Regions from separate parts of the Homo sapiens genome. Here regions 2 and 3 are each linked to region 1. Evidence: promoter capture Hi-C in human tissues and cell types (Jung and others, 2019). All regions are on one chromosome and are shown on one strand. Each heading gives the region's core, a stretch centred on a gene start or on the middle of the fragment in contact. The rest is flanking DNA. Distances are from core to core; before and after follow the strand shown. Region 1 holds the start of TTLL11 (tubulin tyrosine ligase like 11). Region 2 overlaps RC3H2 (ring finger and CCCH-type domains 2). Region 3 overlaps RABGAP1 (RAB GTPase activating protein 1).

Region 1 (3,550 bases), core at 400-2,899:
CTAAGAACCTGAGTCCTCTGTTACCCGCAGCAGATCCCTGTTACCACTGGCTGTGTCCACACTCAGCTATCCTTAATCAAACTCCTGACACTCCTGAAAGCACATTAAATACCTTATATGCTGCAAATAAAGTCAAATGGCTTTATCCACGTAGCCAATTGCAACAGACACCTCTAGAGTCACTGGTGCTACATTCCATCCCCTGCCAGTCTAAAATGGGCTCAGGGATGATAACTCATGTATTCATTCACCCTTTCATTCACTGCTTACTGACACATGCCGTAAGCCAAGCCTGGAATATAAAATACAGTGCCTGATTTTATACCACTGATCATGAGGACAGTGGTGGTGCTGGTGGTGGTGATGGTGATGATGGTGGAAGAAGAGAGAAAGGAGAAGGTGGTAACGTAAGTTACCATTTATTGCAGACTTGTGCTATAAAACACTAAGTAGTGAGTCTTCTAATGCTAACAAGATGATGAGATAAGTATAATTGGCCTCACTTTACAGAGAAGGTAATAGGCTGAAGAGGTGAAGCAACTTACTCAAGGTCACACAGCTAAGTAGCAAAGTGTAGTGAGACCCTAGGCCTGTCTGCCTCCAAAATAAAAAGTGTTCCTCTGCCCAAGAGTCACACAGCAAGTGCTAAACAAATATAACTTCAATGAAGAAGTGAGAGAGCGGGTCCGGGGCCCCAGGGGCTTACAAGCTGGTGGAGGAGACAGACGTACACATATCTACAAGCAGAGGCAAATGCTGATGGCTGAGACATAAAAAGAGCTGCAGGGAGGCAGAGGAGTGAGTGGCTAACTTGACCTGGAGGGGTCTGGGGGGCCCTCTTGGAGGAAGTGATTTTGGGGGGTAGGCCTTGAAGGATGAGCACTTTGCGGCTGACAAGCAGGCCCGAGCGTGGTGCACCGCAGGAGCTCAGCCCTCGCCCGCCGACCTGACCTGGGCCGTGCCGAGACCTCTGAGGTCGTCCTGTCCACCCCACTGTGCCCACGCGGCCGGGTCGGGCCGGGCCTCACCTCCTTCCACTTGAGCTGGCGGATGCTGATCTTCAGGGCATCCAGGGAGGTCCTGGCCTTGGAGCTGTCCACGGTGACCGGCCGCTGGGAGCCGTTCTCGCCGGAACCGTGGCCCGAGCTCCGCTTGCAGCTTCGGCCCTTGTCCCGGGGCTTCCCGTGCGGGCAGAGGCCCTGCACCGGCTTCGGCTTGGACGGGGGCAGCGTGGGCGGCGGCCGCTGAAGGACCTGGGTGTTCCCCTCCTCAGCCGCACTGGGCTGCGCCGGGGCCGGGGCCAGGACCTTGGGCTGCTCCTCCCCTGCCTTGCACTCCGGTTCCCCGGCCGCGCCCGCGTCCACGCGGACCTGTTCCGCCACCGTCTCCGCTGTGGCCTCGGCCTCAGCTTTGGCCGCCGCTTTGGCCGCAGCCACCGCCTCCGCCTCCCACCGGGCCGCCAGCTCGCTCTCGGAGCTGCCCCGCCGCATGGTGCTCAGGGCCGGGGCCAGTGCCAGTGCCACCGCCGCCGCCGCCGCCGCTCCGCCGCCCCAGTCCGCCACCAAACTGCCGCCGCTGCAGCCGCTGCCACGCGTTCCCCGCCCGAGCCCGTTGCCATGATCGCTCAGGCTCGGGTTGACAGCGGCAGTCACCGCATCGAGACGGGGTCCGGGAAGGGACAATCGCCGGCCGAGCCCCAGCGACCTCATAGGCGAGGCTGCCCACGTGACCCTGCCTGTCACAGAGGCAGCGGCGGCCATGTTGGAAGAGGGCAAAGAGCCGCCAGGACCCGCCCACCCCGCGGATGCGCTGGATCTCGAGGGCGCAGAACTCGGAGTGGCGAGGAGAAGCGGGAGGGCAGATTGAGCGCGCGTGGGGCTCGTGAGCCTGGGGACTGGGAGTAAAAACAACTACCTCAAGCAGGAGGCTCAGTCCCCGCCAACACTCGCTGGGATAACTCTCGATAGGACGGAGGAGGAGCCCCCCAGTGGGACCCTCCTCAGTGCAATGGATGGGACCCTCCTCAGTGCAATGGATGGGACCCTCCTCAGTGCGATGGATGTGAGCAGCCCAGGCCCTAGGGGAGCAGAGAGTGTTCCGCTGAAGAAACCCTCTGCTGGTCCTTTGAGCGCCCCCAGATAAGAGGGGAGGCACTTTTCCCTGTTCTCAGGGAGCTCCCGATGGGATGGGGAAGTCATGGGCATGGGTAAGCCCCCTATAGATTCCCACTCGAGTTGAGGATATTAACGATTTTTTCTTTTTCTTTTCTTTTTTTCTTTTTTTTTTTTTTTTTTAGACAGGGTCTCTCTCTGTCGCCCAGGCTGGAGTGCAGTGGCGCGATCCCGGCTCACTGCAGCAGCCTCAACTTCCAGAGCTCAAGGGATCCTCCCACCCCAACCTCCCGAGTAGCTGAGACTACACGAATGTACCACCACTCCCGGCTAAGTTTTGTGTTTCTCGTAGAAACGTGGTTTCGCCATGTTGCCGAGGCTGTTCTCAAACTCCTGACCTCAGGTAATCTGCCAGCCTCGGCCTCCCAAAGTACTAGGATTACAAGCAGAACCACCGCGTCTCTTGTTTTCTTTTTTGTTTTTGTTTTTGTTTTGTTGTTGTTGTTGATGTTGTTACAGAGTTTCGCTCTTGTCGCCCAGGCTGGGATGCAATGGTGTGATCTCGGCTCATTGCAGCCTCCGCCTCCCGGCTTCAAGCAATTCTCCTGCCTCAGCCTTGTGAGTAGCTGGGATTGCAGGAGCCGGCCACCATGCCCGGCTAATTTTTTGTATTTTTAGTATAGACGGGGTTTCACCATCTTGGCCAGGCTGGTCTCTAACTCCCGACCTCAGATGATCCACCCGCCTCAGCCTCCCAAAGTGCTGAGATTACAAGCGTGAGCCACCACGTCCAGCCTGACTGCTTTTACTTATATCACTTTTTTTGTTGTGGTAAAATATAACAAAATTTGCCATTTTAACCATTTTTAGTGTACAATTCAGTGGCATTCTGTATACTCACATTGTTGTGCAACCAGCACCACTATGGGTCTCCGGAACTCTTTTATCTTACCAAACTGAAACTTTGTGTCTATGAAACAATAAGTCGGGATTCCCTTCTCTCCTAGTCCCTGGGAACCACCATTTCTACTTTCTGACTATGAATTTGACTATTCCTGGTTCCTCATGTCAGTGGAATCATACAGTATTTGTCTGGCTTATTTCACGTAGCATAATGTCCTCAAGGTTTCTCCATGTTGTAGCATGAGTCCAAATTTCACTCATTTTTAAGACTGAAAAATATTTCGTCGTGTGCATACACCACCTCGTTTTTATCCATTCATCTGTCAATGGACTTAGGTTGTTTCCACCTTTTGGCTATTGTGAAGAATGTCGGTTAACATTGGTATACAAATACCTGTTTGAGCCCCTGCTTTCCATTTTTGGGAGTTGCCATCATTTTAAAGCCAAACCAAGGAGAAAGCTCTCCCCTCCCACCTGAGGGAGCCGCATTTGTTTTTTTAGGAAGTGGGGTTGAGAAGGTGTAACAGCACCCCAGA
Region 2 (3,473 bases), core at 831-3,330, 800 kb after region 1:
ATACCACAGTTTATTATACTAGTACCTTATTACGCATAGGCATTCAGGTTGTTTCCAGATGTTTGCTATTACAAATAGTGCTTTTATAACTGTATGCATTCTGTACCTTCTGTTGTCTCTTTGGGATAGATTCCTAGAAGTGGGATTGCTAGACCAAAGGGTAAACACAGAGGTAATATTTTCAGATGTTGCCAAATTCCTTTCTTTAAAAGTCTGTACCACTTTGCATGCCCATGACTACTGGATGAGAGTACCTCACACCCTTGCCAACAGAATATATTTTCAGACTTTAAGATTCTGCCAATCTGATAGGTGAGAAATGGTATTTCTTGCATCTTTTGTCAATTTTTCAGTTGGTTGTTGGTCTTTTTCTTCTGAATTTTTAGACATACCTTATATATTAGTTATATTAGTCCTCTGTGTATGTTTGTTACGTAATTTATAAATATTTTCCCCAGTTGGTCTTCTTTTTCATTTGCTTATAATTTTTTTGTGATGTAAATTAAACACAAAATTATATAGTCAAATATCAGTTTCTTCCCTTATTGTTTCTAGATTTTGAGTTAAAGTTAGAAAAATGTTCCCTACTCACAGGTTATAAAGAAATATATTCTTTTATTGGTTTTTATTACCAGTATATTTTTATTTTTAATAAGGATTTCTGACGTTTGTAATTTATATAGTTTATAGAGAATAAGAAATGCATCTAATTTTGCTTTTTCCGCATTTTGATCTAGTTGTCCCAACATCACTTATTAAAAGTTTCCTTTCCAAAAATAAATTCTACCCGAACTGTAGTTCTAAATCACAAAGTTCAAACAATAAACCTTCAAGAAGAAAACACAGGAGGGAACTTCATTACCTTGGTATAGGTGAAGATTTTTTAAGACAGAACATAGATAACACTAATCATAAATAATTATCCCCTAAAAACGATCAAGAGTTTAAACATTTTTTTTCAGACCAAAAAAAAAGCTTACCTTTCTTTGGCTTATTACGTGTTCAATCTTAGGCCTCTAACTTGGTTTTCTAATTTGTAAAACTGTAGCTATATTGCCTATCTTGATGGCAATTGAAGCTTAAATGAGAAATTTTGTTTTAAAACACAAAAGCACTGTCTATCATATAAATTAAGATTAATAAAAACGGATTTATATTGGCTGGGTGCAGTGGCTCACGCCTGTAATCCTAGAACTTTGGGAGGCTGGGGCAGGCAGATCACCTGAGGTCAGGAGTTCCAGACCAGTCTGGCCAACATGGTGGAACCCTGTCTGTACAAAAAATAGAAAAATTAGCCGGGTATGATGGCGTGTGCCTGTAGTCCCAGCTACTTAGGGGGCTGAGTCAGGAGAATTGCTTGAGCATGGATGTCGAGGCTGCAGTGAGCCAAGACTGCGCCACTGCACTCCAGCCTGGGTGACAGAGTGAGACCCTGTCTCAAACAAAACAAAACAGCAATAACAACAACAACAAAAACAAATTTATCTTTAATTATATCAAGATTTGTACATATAAAGACGGGTTGAGTCTCAGGATTCACCGAGCTCCAGAAATTGGCATCCTCAAGCCCCAATAGCTAATAAAAAAGGTAAGATAGTAACCTATCTTACCTGGCCCTAAAAACTGGCATCCTCGAGCCCTGACAGCGGCCCATAGATTGGCAGACAACTGCTGAGGGTTCTGGTGCTGTAATATCAGTTCTGTTACAGTTCTTTCTCCAAGGGAACGAGCTGCTCGCATGGCTCTTACACGACCTTCTTCCTCCACCAGTTGACAGTTTACAAGTGTCACCAGTTTCCTTTGCATTGGACGGCTCAGTGCACTCTGGTTCAAGCTAGCTACACCTTTAGGAAAAGGGAAACAAAGGGAGCTAAAGTTTTTTCAATAAAAAATAAAAGTCAATTTTCATTATCTGCATTTAACGATTAAGCCACAATTCCTAATGAGTCCCTTGTAATGTGCTTTCATTTTTCTAACAGTATTCTGTCTCTGTTTGTTATTATTCTATAGTAATAAGAAGCCTAATTTTTAGCTACTTTAGCAGTTTAACCTAAAAGTAAAAATGACTCTATTTTTTAATTGTATATAAGACATTTAGAATACTGCTTAATGGTAAGCTCTTAGATTCTACTCCTATGTACCTATGTAAGAATATTGCTCCAGCAATTCTCCCCTCTCCCACATTATCAAATTTTCCCTCTTTACTTGAACATTTCCATCATTACAGAATAAGAACAAGTATGCTGTTATTTCATCCATCTAAAATACAAATATTTTCATTGATCCTGCTTCCCCTACCAAATCTGCCCCATTTTTTTTTTTTTTTTTTTTTTTTGGAGACAGAGTCTCACTCTGTCGCCCAGGCTGGAGTGCAGTGGCACAATCTCAGCTCACTGCAACCTCTGCCTCCCAGATTCAAGCAATTCTCCTGCCTCAGCCTCCCGAGTAGCTGGGATTACAGGTGAGTGTCACCACACCTGGCTAATTTTTTTTGTATTTTTAGTAGAGATGGGGTTTTACCATGTTGGCCAGGGTGGTCTCAAATTCCTGACCCCAAATGATCTGCCCGCCTCGGCCTCTCAAAGTGCTGGAATTACAGGCGTGAGCCTCTGTGCCCAGCCTCTGTTCCATTTCTTTCTTCTCTTATGCAGCAAATTTTCTAGAGTTGTCTATACTCGCTATTTCCTAGTCTAGTGCCTTAACTACTTAGCCAATTGTAGATCACTACAATTGATCTGTTCACTACTTCCAATTCCTTGTTTCACAATCTCTGAAACCCACCCCAATCAAATTTTTCCCACATCACTTGACCAAACTTGCTAAATTGGTTAAATTAGTTAATTCTTAGTTCCTTATTTTATCTGACCTTCCAACAGCATTCAACACACATGATTACTCATTACTCCTTTAAAACACATTATTTGGCTTACTAATGTATCCCAGCACTAGAAGAATGCCTGACACTCTCAGTCCACGCTCTTTAGATAGCTGTTCAATAAATGAATGAATGAATACAGGGGATAAGTTTCTCAGTAAAATCACTATGGCCACATACACAACAGTGCAAAGCATTCAACAGGTACAAAATACTCAATATATTCAATCATTCAACAATTGTTTATTATACCTATGATGTGCTAAGTATGCAGTGATAAAATTTCAGTTTTGTCATAGACTTAAAATAATTTATTACACTTGTACATCTATCTCCCCCAGTAAACTGTGGGCTCCATGATGGCAGTGACCTTAATCACTGTTAAGTGCTCAATAAAATTTAATGAATGACTGAATGAATACATGCATACATGAAGCTGTCTTAATAGGACTTATCAAAACTAATATTCTGTTACAGCACTATTACACAGTGAATTCAAATAATGTACAAATTTCAAGATGCAGTGACTCTGGTAAATTTTTTTTTTTTTTTTGAGACAAGGTCTCACTCCCATTGCCCAGGTTGAGTGCAGTGGCAC
Region 3 (3,880 bases), core at 334-2,833, 890 kb after region 1:
GTAATATGTCTTCCTTCAATTCCAGTTGCATTCCCAGTTGTAATTACTAATTGCTTCAACAGGGAATCTAATATCTTCTCTCATCTGTTTTTGGGAAGCTGTATAACTCTATTCCTATATGTTATTTCTCCCTACCCTTGGAAAAATTAGTTTAGGTTCACTTGGGCTGTCTTTTGCTTACTGCAGGTGATACAGTATTTCTTCTCCAGTTTTGAAAAGATAAGAGGCTAATTGAATCTAAGCTTTAGTTGGATTTTTAGGTGCTTTAAAAATTTTTTAAGCTGGGCGTGGTGGCACTGCCTGTAGTCACAGTTCCTGGGGAGGCTGATGAGGGAGGATCACTTGAGCCCAGGAGTTCAAGTCCACGCTGGGCAACATAGTGATATGATGTCACTTTTAAAAAAAAGTTTTTGAGACAGGGTTTTGCTCTATCACCCAGGCTGGAGTGCAGTGGCGTGATCTCGGGTCACTGCAGCCTCAACTTCTGGGCTCCAGCGATCCTCCCACCTCAGCCTCCCAGTAGCTGGGACCACAGGCACATGCTACCATGCACGGCTAATTTTTGTGTTTTTGGTAGAGATGGGGTTTCACTGTGTTGCCCAGGCTGGTCTCGAACTCCTGAGGTCAAGCAGTCTGTCCACCTCAGCCTCCCAAAGTGCTGGGATTATAGGCGTGAGCCACTGCGCCCAGCAAAAAAAAAAAAAACAAAAACTTTTTAAAGCAGAACTTCTAAAAAAAGAAATTCAGTTGCACTTGTGTATGTGTAGAATCTGATTTAACAAAGGGTTAAAATTACTCGGCCCACTTGTAATTCCATTAGCAGTAACTCCAAACATAAAATGAAATTCACAGAAACAGAAATTGTCATTGAAGCCAAGAAAGAGGTCTTTATTTCTAAGGCAAAAGTAGTTGAAGTGTTGGAATTTCCTTGGGAAAATGTCCGCAAAAAAGACTTGTCTTTTTCTCAATTATAATTTGCAGCACAAGAGACTTGAAGTTTATAGAATTATAAAAGCCTGAATCAATAAAAGTACTTGAATTGGATTTCTTGGTACCCCAGAGGTACCTACCTCTGTTATTGGAATATTGCTTCCTAGCATCTGTGTTAATTTTGCTAGGGTAGGCCTCATTCTCTTAGCCCTGCCCAATTTAACTTTTTGTTAGGTTTTAGTCTTCAGAAAGCCTCCTAAATCAGGGCTCCCTCTTTTTTCCCATGACTTCGTTTTTCTAACTCAATTCTTTTGTTAATTTTTTTAGTATTTCTTAAGCATTTAGTGACAATACTGCATTATGTCACTTGTGGTTTTCCTTGGCATTGGGCAGTCTCCACTGGATTTTGCACTTACTTGCTTCCTTGTTGAGGAACTAGTAATAACCCATCATGACTCCATAGAATTACTTGATATTATTGAAATAGAGTGCTTTTATTTCTCAGGACTATTTTGTACATTCATGTCAGCTTTACTCAAGTGTTTCAGAACTTTCAGAACCTGTTCATATCATGTAACTCTTCCTCAGAAATACAAGAGACTTGCATATGACTGGAGTGGTAAAATACCTGTGGAAATGTATTGCCTAATATGTATGTTTCTGTTGATACCTTTTGGAAGCAAGCACATTTTTCCCTTTTTCTTAAGGGCTAGAGGAGACACTAAGATGTTCTTCTTAAAAGCGTTATTTCTTATCAGACAAAATTATAGATCCTTTAATTATTGTTAGTTTAGGACACAGTAAAAGACTTTAATAACATTGGCAGGCTATCGCATATATTTCTGGGTATTAGTCTCAAGTTCACTATGTACTTTTTCATGAAAAACTATGTAATTGAGAGAGCAGCTGCACCCTTATTTGTTGCAGATCTTGATTTATTCTATTTTTAAAAAAAACATTCAGAAGATATCTTTGTATCAAAAGAAATGCTAATGATTTTCTTTAGAATGTGAACCCATTTTAATCAATACTGGCCAATCTTTGTCACTTTGCTGATTGCATGTATTTGTGACCCTTAGATTGTAGGGAATGGAAGTGAACAGCAGCTGCAAAAAGAGCTAGCAGATGTACTGATGGATCCTCCAATGGACGACCAGCCAGGGGAAAAGGAGCTTGTGAAAAGGTCACAACTGGATGGTGAAGGAGATGGGCCTCTTTCTAATCAGCTCTCCGCTTCATCCACCATTAACCCTGTGCCATTAGTAGGGCTCCAAAAACCAGAGATGAGCCTACCAGTGAAACCTGGACAAGGAGGTTAGGATTGCTGCATTGCTTGCGTAACTGAAGGTTATTGTTTTTAATATGTGAGTGTCCACCCTGTACTAGGTTTTATTTAGAACAGGCAAAACCATTGTCTACAAAAACAGGCAAAAACATTCTCTAGAATCTCTGAATTCTAAATCTAAGGGGATGTGAGAGGAGTAAAAATATATATACCATTCTGATTTCCTTTTAAATGTATTTCACTTGTACCAAGGAAAGAGAAAACATGGCTAAAGGACACAGAGGGAGTCTTTTTTTTTTTCCCCCCAGGAATGCTTAAAGATTTTTCAAATAAAGAAGGAATATGAGTACAATATTAGAGAAATGGAGGGATAATTCTGGGTGAACAGATGTTTGCTCCAGACCTATATAGCTCTATGGGAGCAGTTGCCAAGTTGAAAAAGGAAGACTAGAACATGGGACAGAAAGACATAGCATGGGAGGAGAAGGACAACTTAAAAGACTCATTTGGAAAAGCAGGTGCTAAAACTATAGATGTTATTGGGAAAGGAAAGCCAAAGGGATTAAGAGAACATAATGAAGTGGCTAAGATGATGAATTAGAGAAATAATTGTAACAGTGCAGCTCAGAAAGATGACAGTTAGGCCGGGCGCAGTGGCTCACGCCTGTGATCCCAGCACATTGGGAGGCCGAGGCAGGTGGATCACAAGGTCAGGAGATCGAGACCATCTGGCCAACATGGTGAAACCCTGTCTCTATTAAAATACAAAAAATTAGCCAGGCGTGGTGGCACGCACCTGTAGTCACAGCTACTTGGGAGGCTGAGGCAGCGGGAATTGCTTGAAACCAGGAGGTGGAGGTTGCAGTGAGCCGAGATTGTTCCACTGCACTTCAGCCTGGCGACAGAGCGAGACTCCGTCTCAAAAAAAAAAAAAAAAAAAAAGATGACAGTCAGAGATAGGAGTTTCAGAGTGAAGAAATACTAAATGTATATTCGACCTAAATGTAAATTACAAAGTCAAAACAAATTAGAAGAGGCAGAAAGGTGAATCAAATCTGAGTCTGATTGAGACCGACTCTAATAGCACTATATTTTGAGTATCCTTTGTCTGAAATGCTTGGGACCAGAAGTGTTTCAGATTTCAGATGTTTTTGGATTTTGGAATATGCATATAATTACCTGCTGAGCACCCCAAATCCAATAATTCAAAAACTGAAATGCCCCAAATAGTACTTCTTTTAAGTGTCATGTAGGTACTCAAAAGGTTTTGAAATTTGAAGCATTTCATGTTTCAGATTTTTGAATTTAGGATGCTCAACCTGTACCTAAAAATCTTGGTGTTTCTGACAGAGTTCTAGTGTGGGATTTCTGGTTTTCATGGGCATTTCTTTTAGGGTATGGCATATTGTCTCATTAATACTTAATTTTAGACCTTAAATGTTACTTGCAGATTTTTACTTGCTAATCGTATCAACAAAATATCAAAGTGAAAGTAATCACTTCCTTATTCATTGTTTCTTTCAGATTCTGAAGCTTCAAGTCCTTTCACACCAGTGGCCGATGAGGACAGCGTAGTTTTCAGTAAACTGACTTACTTAGGCTGTGCCTCGGTAAATGCTCCCAGGAGTGAAGTGGAAGCCTTAAGGATGATGTCCATCTTAAGAA

The links. Contacts are between HindIII fragments. The study calls those that stand out against the background at their distance.
Region 2: a fragment that was not itself captured here is called in contact with the fragment with the promoter of TTLL11 in region 1 in 1 of the 25 tissues and cell types used here (bladder).
Region 3: a fragment that was not itself captured here is called in contact with the fragment with the promoter of TTLL11 in region 1 in 1 of the 25 tissues and cell types used here (bladder).

The regions. Positions count from the first base shown.
Region 1 is chr9:122,091,659-122,095,208 of GRCh38, forward strand. TTLL11 (tubulin tyrosine ligase like 11) reads right to left here and starts at 1,650. Exons shown (of 9, transcript NM_001139442.2): 1 at 1,029-1,650. The coding sequence starts at 1,490. LOC124902263 (a long non-coding RNA gene) reads left to right here and starts at 2,474. Exons shown (of 2, transcript XR_007061757.1): 1 at 2,474-2,514; 2 at 3,516-3,550. RefSeq lists enhancers at 1,178-1,891, 1,641-1,830 and a silencer at 1,241-1,290. The HindIII fragment of the contact is 16,076 bases long and covers 1-3,550 here.
Region 2 is chr9:122,888,702-122,892,174 of GRCh38, forward strand. RC3H2 (ring finger and CCCH-type domains 2) reads right to left here. Exons shown (of 21, transcript NM_001100588.3): 4 at 1,611-1,844. Among named protein-coding and RNA genes, the nearest start is that of SNORD90, 10 kb to the left of the region's middle. The HindIII fragment of the contact is 4,424 bases long and covers 1-3,473 here.
Region 3 is chr9:122,982,476-122,986,355 of GRCh38, forward strand. RABGAP1 (RAB GTPase activating protein 1) reads left to right here. Exons shown (of 26, transcript NM_012197.4): 3 at 2,010-2,244; 4 at 3,740-3,880. Among named protein-coding and RNA genes, the nearest start is that of RABGAP1, 43 kb to the left of the region's middle. The HindIII fragment of the contact is 4,839 bases long and covers 1-3,880 here.